Regions from separate parts of the Homo sapiens genome. Here all the other regions are linked to region 1. The links are contacts of gene promoters, found by promoter capture Hi-C in human tissues and cell types (Jung and others, 2019). All regions are on one chromosome and are shown on one strand. Each heading gives the region's core, a stretch centred on a gene start or on the middle of the fragment in contact. The rest is flanking DNA. Distances are from core to core; before and after follow the strand shown. Region 1 holds the start of S100Z (S100 calcium binding protein Z). Region 2 overlaps AGGF1 (angiogenic factor with G-patch and FHA domains 1). Region 3 overlaps IQGAP2 (IQ motif containing GTPase activating protein 2).

Evidence for each region. Contacts are between HindIII fragments. The study calls those that stand out against the background at their distance.
Region 2: a fragment that was not itself captured here is called in contact with the fragment with the promoter of S100Z in region 1 in 1 of the 25 tissues and cell types used here (spleen).
Region 3: a contact is called between a fragment that was not itself captured here and the fragment with the promoter of S100Z in region 1, in 3 of the 25 tissues and cell types used here (H1 embryonic stem cells, IMR-90 fibroblasts and small bowel).

The regions. Positions count from the first base shown.
Region 1 is chr5:76,848,651-76,851,596 of GRCh38, reverse strand. S100Z (S100 calcium binding protein Z) reads right to left here and starts at 1,583. Exons shown (of 5, transcript NM_130772.4): 1 at 1,442-1,583. The HindIII fragment of the contact is 8,325 bases long and covers 1-2,946 here.
Region 2 is chr5:77,044,782-77,047,727 of GRCh38, reverse strand. It overlaps AGGF1 (angiogenic factor with G-patch and FHA domains 1), which reads right to left. Exons shown (of 14, transcript NM_018046.5): 6 at 1,051-1,381. Among named protein-coding and RNA genes, the nearest start is that of AGGF1, 16 kb to the right of the region's middle. The HindIII fragment of the contact is 7,047 bases long and covers 1-2,946 here.
Region 3 is chr5:76,687,040-76,689,985 of GRCh38, reverse strand. The region is part of intron 30 of IQGAP2 (IQ motif containing GTPase activating protein 2); the gene reads right to left. Among named protein-coding and RNA genes, the nearest start is that of NCRUPAR, 24 kb to the left of the region's middle. The HindIII fragment of the contact is 4,029 bases long and covers 1-2,946 here.

The sequences.
Region 1 (2,946 bases), core at 334-2,833:
CTCCAGTCAACAGCAATACCCTCATTCACCCAACTGCATGGCCAGAAACCTGAGTATGATGCTATTCCTGGCCCCTCTCTCTCTCTCATGCAATCAGTTGCCAGGTTGTATCTCCTCACTCTCTGTTCCTTCCTCCTCAACCCTAGCGCCATAGTTCAGGCCCTTGTCACTTCTGGCCTGAATTACTGCATGAGATCCCAACTCACCTCCTGCACCTACTTTGCTCTTCTTCAAAATTAGCCTCCCCTGCCTGCTGGGAGGCACACCTGAGCTCCTCACTTAACCTCCTGGACAGGCCCTGCCATCCCCTGGCTAAATCTAAACTCCCCGCAGTGTGCCCACCCATCCCCTCTGCACCATCTGTGCCGCACACGTGGCACTGCCACTGTGCTGCCCATTCCTCTGCTCAGGTGCCAGTCCTCCAGGGAAGCCTCCGATGCCCCTCAGCTCCTGGGAGCACTCCGCCTCTGGGTGCCCCTGTATCACCTCATGCTTTCCTCTAGACCTGCACCGGCACTGGGTTGAAGGAAAATAATAGTAGCCAACGTTAATTAGCACATACTCTGGGCCAAGCACCCTTCTAGGCAGTTTAAATGTATTCCTTTATGTCATCCTCAAAAATCCCATGAGGAGGCTGGGGAGCGGTGGCTCATGCCTGTAATCGCAGCACTTTGGGAAGCCAAGTGGGAGGTGGAGGTTGCAGTGAGCTGAGATCACACCACTGCACTCCAGCCTGGGTGACAGAGTGAAACTCCATCTCAGAAAAAAACAAAAAACAAAAAAAACTTTATTTCTCTGTCTAACCCAAATTTTGTGTCCTCTCACCAACTTCTCCCCAGCCCCTCCATCCCTCTTCCCTCTCTTCTTCTGTAGGCTGAGAGCAGCCATTCCAGGGCTGATTGTCCAGGCATGCCCAGCACTGGCCAGTGTGAAGAGGAGGAGCATAGACCACTGCTGTGACTTCCTGGGAGTGGGCTTACACTGGCATCTGTGCAGGCTTCAGGAAAAAGAAGCGAAATCACGGCGTGGATCTAAGGGGCCAAGCCTCACCTTGAAGGTTCTTCTGGGTCTTTGGCCTGGACAAGAACATGAAACTTGAATTTCTCAAGGTGAGGTGAAGGCCAAGCAGGAAGCCAGGATGGTCACCAGGAAAGGAGCCAGAATGAACTAAGTGTTCTTTAGGGCAAGGAACTTACCAGAACCTCTACGCTCCGAGCTATGATCAGGCTGCTCTCTCCCTCTCTCTCTCTCTCTCTCTCTCCCCCACCCCCCCGACCCCTTTGTGGCCAAGGTAAGGCCACATTTTAGAGTGGAAGCCCCAAGGCAACCCCCCACCTCACAACCTCCACTCTTGTTGCCCTCTCTAATCCAACGCCTGCCAGGCTCACACTTCAACCACTAGACTGAAAAGCAAGAATCTTCCACAAAAATAATCTTTTACCTTAGACCTGCTTCCTGTGCAGATGAGATAAGGAGAATGCTCTTGTCTGAATTTCTGGGCGTGGAGATTAGCAAGCCGTTTTCCTCCCAGCAGCTAGAGCGAGCAAGAGGCCCTGCTGTGAGTAGTGCTGTTCTGAGTCTGCGTGGTCCAGACTCACCACACTGCAGGCACGTTTCTTCATCAGGTGGGAAAGCAGGAAGAGGTTTAATTTAGGACCTAAAGCTGGTATATTGCTGAGTAAAAGAAATGGGAAGGCACCAAGTCTCTAACGAAATTGCGCTGGGTGCAGTGGCTCATGCCTCTAATCCCAGCACTTTGAGAGGCTGAGGTGGGTGGATCACTTGCGGTCAGGAGTTTGAGACCAGCCTGGTCAACGTGGCGAAACCCCATCTCTACTAAAAATATAAAAATTAGCCAGGCATGGTGGCGGGCGCCTGTAATTCCAGCTACTCGTGAGGCTGAAGCAGGAGAACGCTTGAACCTGAGAGGCAGAGGTTGTAGTGAGCTGAGCTCGCCGCTGCCCTCCAGACTAGGTGACAGAGCCAGATTCCGTCTCAAAAAAACAAAAAAAAAAGAAAAAGAAACTGCTTGTGATCCAACACTCCCCCACTGGTGCCTCCTCATGGTGAAGAGCAATTACTCTGGCACCAGAGTCTTGGGGTTCAAATCCTTACTTCACCAGTATGTGACTGGAAAAGCTACCTAACCTGCCTGCTGAAGCTTCATGGCTAATAATTCCTCACAGCATTTCTTTTTTTCTTTTTTTTTTTTGAGACAGAGTCTTGCTCTGTCACCCAGGCTGGAGTGCAGTGGCATCATCTCAGCTCACTGCAACCTCCACCTCCCTGGTTCAAGCTTCTGCCTCAGCCTCCCAAGTAGCTGAGATTACAAGCGCCCACCACTAAGCCTGGCTAATTTTTGTATTTTCAGTAGAGATGGGGTTTCACCATGTTGGTGAGGCTGGTCTTGAATTCCTGACCTCAAGTGATCCGCCCACCTTGGCCTCCCAATGTGCTGGGATTATAGGCGTGAGACACTGCGCCTGGCCCAGGAGGAATAAGTTTAAGAGCTCCCATTGTACAGCATGCTATCTATAGTTAATAACAATATATCGTGTATCGAAAATTGCTAAGACAGTAGATGTTAAGTGTCTTTATCACCCCCAAAAAATGACAAGTATATGGGGCAATTAAGTCAAATAGCTTGACTTAATAATTCCACAATGTATACATAAATTAAAACATCAAGCTGTATTTGTATACCATAATATATACAATTTTTACTTGTCAATTAAATAAATAAATACACAGAAAAGGGCAGAGACAGGTCAAGAAGCACAGCACTCAGTACAGAAATACAGATAACAATATATTGAAAGAAAGAATTCAAAGATAAATTTTTTTTTTTTTTTTTTGGAGACAGAGTCTTGCTCCATTGCCTAGGGTAGAGTACAGAGACACAATCACAGCTCTCTGCAACCTCAACCTCCCAGGCTCAAGTGATCC
Region 2 (2,946 bases), core at 168-2,667, 200 kb before region 1:
TGGCCAACATGGTCAAACCCTGTCTCTACTAAAAATACAAAAATTAGCTGGGTGTGCGTGGTGACATGCGCCTGTAGTCCCAGCAACTTGGGAGGCTGAGGCAAGAGAATCACTTGAACCCAGGAGGCGGAGGTTACAGTAAGCCGAGACTGCGCCACTGCACTCCAGCCTGGGCAATAGAGCAAGGCTCTGTCTCAAAAAAAATGCAAGAGAAATGCCATTGAGAACCAAAGAACAAAGTAAGCTCATATACTACACAGTTGGCCCTCGGTATCTGTGGGGGATTAGTTCCAAGATCCCTCCTCATATGCCAAAATCTATGGATGTTCAAGTCCTTATATAAATTGTATCGTATTTGCATATAACTTATGTGCATCCTTCTGTATAACTTAAATCATCTCTAGATTACTTACACCTAATACAATGTAAATGCTATATAAATAGGTACACCATATTTAGGGGACAATAACAAGAAAAAAAGTGTGTACATGTTCAGTACAGATGTAGCTATCCATTTTTTTCCCTGAATATTTTTGATCTGAGGTTGCTTGAATCCACTAAAGTAGAACCCATGGATACAGAAGGCCAACTGTAATATGAAATCCTGTGTTTTAAAAGTATGTCTTTATATATTCAAGTAAAAAAAAATTAGATTTACCATAATATCCATGTAGCTGAATTCATAATGTATACTTTTTAAAGACAACTTGTTTTTCTCTCTCAGTTACAAAAGTAGACTACAAATATCTAACCCACTAAAACAGCCTTAATCTATATTTTAAGATTAGAATCCAGGTAACCTGGCTTTGTATTCTACTGACTATGCCATTCAATACAATGAAACCTTCTGAAGGTCTAAGTATTAGTCATTTATTCACATCCTACTCTCTAAGAATAACCAAGTGGCAACCCACAACATTTTCAATAACATCATTAAAATAATGTTTACTTTCTGGCAGATATACTACAACTCACTAACATTTTTAATGGTTTTGCTCTTTTATAGTTACCAGACTGGGCTATTTACTTAAATAATGATTATTTACTCACCTTCATCCTCACTATCTTCTGCAGTTACATTGCCTTCACTGGTAATGGCTTCGTCATAACTATCCTCAGTCTGAGAGTCTGTAATTTCACCTTCCTCTGGTTCACTATCAGTCTCCATGATTTTCTCATCTTTAAATGATGTTGAATTAGAGATGTTTTCATGAAGAGGAGACTCTATAGTATTTCCACTAGTTGGAACAGTGACTTTGGGGGGACTATTTTTGTGATGAATGCCTATTTTGGCCTTCTTTTTCATATTTGCGAAATTTTCTTCCTCATTGCAGCTTGTATGTTCAACACTGAAGGCTTTTTGATCCTCTGAGTTCAAATCCTGGAGAAGGGTGGGTAGATACGAGGGAACAGGGGAGAATACTCTTAAACATCACTATCTTATAACATTACATCAAGTTTCAACGAATTCGTGAAGATATGTGTCAGTAAAATAACAATGGTTACAATCTGTTCCCCCTCTCCTTCTCACATTTCCTTTCTTGGTTAATGATATTACCATCTTCTTATTATCCAAATTAAAAATCCTATAGTTATCTCTGAGATCCCCTTAACCATATATAAAATTACGAAGTGCTACAGACTTTTCTCAAAATATATCCAAATCTGTCTCTCTATTCTCAATGTCTTAACATTCCTAGTTCAGGCCCTCATCACATACTGCCTGGACTATGGGATAGCCTAGACCAATGGTGTCCAATAAAAATGTAACACAAACCATATTTGTACTTTTACATTTTCTAGTAGCCACATTTAAAAAGTAAAATTATTAATGAGATAGTTTACATAGTCTGCAACATCCAGAGTGTATTTTACACTTAACAGCACATTTGAGTTTGGATTAGCAAAACTTCAAGTGCTCAACAGCCACATGGAGCTGCTGGCTACCTTACTGGATAGTGCAGGCCTAAAGAATACCTATTCTAAATTTTCTTTTTAAACTGGTAATCAATTAGCTAGTCAACACAAATAAAATACAGAATTAGCTTTACTTATGACATGAATTTAAAGATCCAAATGTACTCAATATGTAGCAAAATTGTAGTTTTGCTAAAATTTAGTACTTCAGATTCAGCTTGATAATACATAAAAGTTTAAAGTACAAATTAACTGTGACTATCTTATTCCAAAATTTTAACTTGCCTGGCATAAGTCTTTTATTATTTATTGTACATTTATAGTTGATATGCCTTATAATAAATGAACATTTTTTAATTAACAAAAATGATGTATTTTTATCATGTACAACATGAAGTTTTGAAATACGTACACAATGTACAGTGGTTAAATTGAGCTAATTAACATGTACATTACCTCAAATACTTATTTTTCTGTGGTAAGAAACTTAAAATTTGCTCTCAGCAGTTTGCAATAATACAACACATTGTTATTAACAATAGTCACCGTGTTATACAATGGTCAAATCTATCATTTCAGCCTTAGAAAAAGTAAATAATTATTTTCCATTTTTTTCCCTTGGTTTCTAACGCACTCTCACTTTTCTTTCTACCTCAGAGCAACATGAGGCGAATTCATATGCTCTTCTGTTATTTTATAAAATATGAGAGCATCTCACACACCTTTCTTTCTTTTTTTTTTTTTTTGAGACGGAGTCTCGCTCTGTCGCCCAGGCTGGAGTGCAGTGGCGCGATCTCGGCTCGCTCCAACCTCCACCTCCCAGGTTCAAGAGATTCTACTGCCTCAGCCTCCCGAGTAGCTGGGACTACAGGCATGCGCACCACCATACCCAGGTAATTTTTTTATTTTTAGTAGAGATGGGGTTTCACCATGTTGGCCAGACTGGTCTCGATCTCTTGACCTCATGATCCATCCACCTCACATACCTATCTTTGATAACAGCGTAAGTTCAGCTTGGAGACTGGCTAA
Region 3 (2,946 bases), core at 256-2,755, 160 kb after region 1:
TGTGCTCAAACCCCACTGTAGATAAATGAGCCCATACGGCGCTTGTAAGCTGGTGTGGCCCCTTGGGTTTGGCCACTCCATTCATATGGTATCTATTATTACCAGTAGCATTCCTGAAGCTCCCCCTCTGTCATCTGCTTATACTGTGCCCAAGGTTGAAAAGCAATCAGTGTTTGTGGAAACTAAGGAATATTTTCAGTATTTAACATCCTAACAAGATAATTTACATTATTAGCTCCAGACCTCAAATATCACCTTAGCCATTTAGTGCTCCTGCTAGTTTGGACCAAAAAACAAGGAAATCTTTCAGCTGGGATCATGGAACCTAAACTTAATCATGTGACAGGAAATTCTTAAGAGATGACAATTTAAGCACTCAAGCAGCTAAGTATGATTAAAAACCACAAATATTGCCTTCTACTTAAACACACATACTTTTGTGGGAAACTAAGCTTAATTAAGGCCATAAGGATCACATATTTTAAGTTGAATCATAAGTTATAATGAAAGGTTGACAACTGCATAGTTTTATATAATTTATGTGGTATTAATTATAATTTCATGTGATCATCATAGCCCTTCCTTTCCCCTCTCCTCTATATTATGGAGGAGAAAACTGATGGCGAGGCAACTTGCTGAGTTCCATGGTTAATAAGTGATAGATTGAGGCTATAACCCTATGTCATCCCTAAGACCCCTCGACTAGGTTTTTAGGATTCCTCGACCAGGTTTTTTTTTTTTTTTTTTTTTTTTTTAAATATCCCTGTGCTTGGTAGTATTAGAAAAATAGCAATAGCCCAAACTGAGGTTCTCTATTCTATAAACATACACAAGGGAAAAAGAAATAAATGTTTCTTCCTACTCCGATATGTGCCCTTTGTCCCTCCTCTTTGGCCTGGAAAGATGCTCCAGCCTCCGTTACTCAGTAACTGCTCAGCTAATAATTCTCATTATTTATTCTAAGATTCCTAAGAATGCAAAGAACAATGACCTTGCCCTCGACAAGTTGTAAAACTTTATGATCAAGAGTGTGGGCCCTGGAGGATTTCAAATCATGTGGGTTTGAATCTCTGCTCCACTTAGTAACTGTGTTACCCAGGAAAAGGTTTATACCTGTTCTGTGCCTAGTTTCCTCATCTGTAAAATACTGATAATAACCTCCACTCTCTTGGGGTTGCTGAGAATATTACATACATATTTTATACATGTTTATTTTAATATATATATATGCACATGTTATTCTCTTTCTCTCTTTACAGATTGTGGGTCCCTTTTTCAAAATGCTTGGGCCCAAAAGTGTTTCAGATTTTTTATCTTTTCAGATTTTGGAACATTTGCATTATATACTTACTGCTTCAGCATCCTAAATCCGAAAATTCAAAACGCTCCAAAGAGCATTTCCTTTGACCACTGTCAGCTCTCAAAAGGTTTGGAATTCTGGAACACTTTGCATTTGCACAGTATATAAAAACTGTCCCTGGCCATGGTAAGCACTACATAGGTGTTTGCTATTATCATCATCTTCATCTTCATCTGATGAGTAAGAATTATGAGACTAGCATGGAATTAAATTTACAAACATAATGATTAACAATGCCTCAAATTCTGCTACTGTGGGGGCCTCCATGAAGATGAGTTACTCATGACTGGAAAACTAGTGACATTGTAATTAAACATAAGGGCATTTCTGAAAGTTAAGAACACAATCTGTTTCACAAAAAAGCAGAATAGTTTTTTGATAGAGAAAAGCTAGGTATTTTCACATCCCAATTGCTCTGCATTTCATGTCTGTCCACTTCATAACTTATAAAAGTCATTGTCCGATTTTAGTTAAATTTGGTTCTCTAATGAATCTCAAGAACTATATCTTATGCTTGAGTTACAAATTCGGTTTATTAGCTTGGAAAAAAGTCATCCTGATGAGAGTGTTCAAATCAAAAAAGTCATCCTCATGAGAGTTCAAATCAATATTTTAAAGGAGTGGTCCCCAACCCTTTTGGCACCAGGGACAGGTTTTGTGGAAGACAATTTTTCCATGGACAGGGTGGGGGATGGTTTCGGGAAGATGATTCAAGTGCGTTACATTTATTGTGCACTTTGTTTCTATTATTATTGCATTGTAATATATAATGAAATAATTATACAACTCACCATAATACAGAATGAGTGGATGCCCTGAGCTTGTTTTCCTACAACTAGACAGTCCCATCTGTGGGTGATGGGAGACAGTGATCATCAGGCATTAGATTCTCATAAGGAGTGTGCAACCTAGATCCCTTGCATGTGGAGCTCACAATAGGGTTCATACTCCTATGAGAATCTACTGCTGCCACTGATCTGACAGGAGGTGGAGCTCAGGTGTTAATGCCAGCAATGGGGAGCAGCTGTAAATACAGGATGAAGCTTCACTTGCTCCCCTCCTGCTGTGTCGCCTGGTTCCTAACAGGCCATGGACTGATACTGGTACTTTTAGACTTTAGTTTCCTTGCCTGCAAGAAAAAGACTCAGTTTTCAGGTTCCCTGTCAATGCTGCACTTTGTAATTATCTGTTAGTATCAAGATTTTTTCAAATATGTACTTTAAAGGAAGTATATTTAGAAGCAGGGCTTGGCTAAAATCATAGAACTAATTCTATTGAACCTTTTGGGCAATATCCAAATTTCACTTTCAGGGATGGCTAACCAGTCAGTGTTGATTTCAAATTGTTACCTACATTGATCACTGGGCTGCTTAGTAAAGTGGTCGGCCAACAGTAAGATCTCACAGTATGCCAAGAGGAAGGCCTTTGAGCATAAAAGACTTAGGGCCTCTATTAAAACACTGGCCTCAAGCCTTTTTTACATAAATGGAAAAGTTGATCCTAAAATTCACATATAACTGCAAGAGACCTATTCAACTGCAAGACTAAAACAATCTTGAAAAAGAAGAAAGAAGTTGGAGGACTTC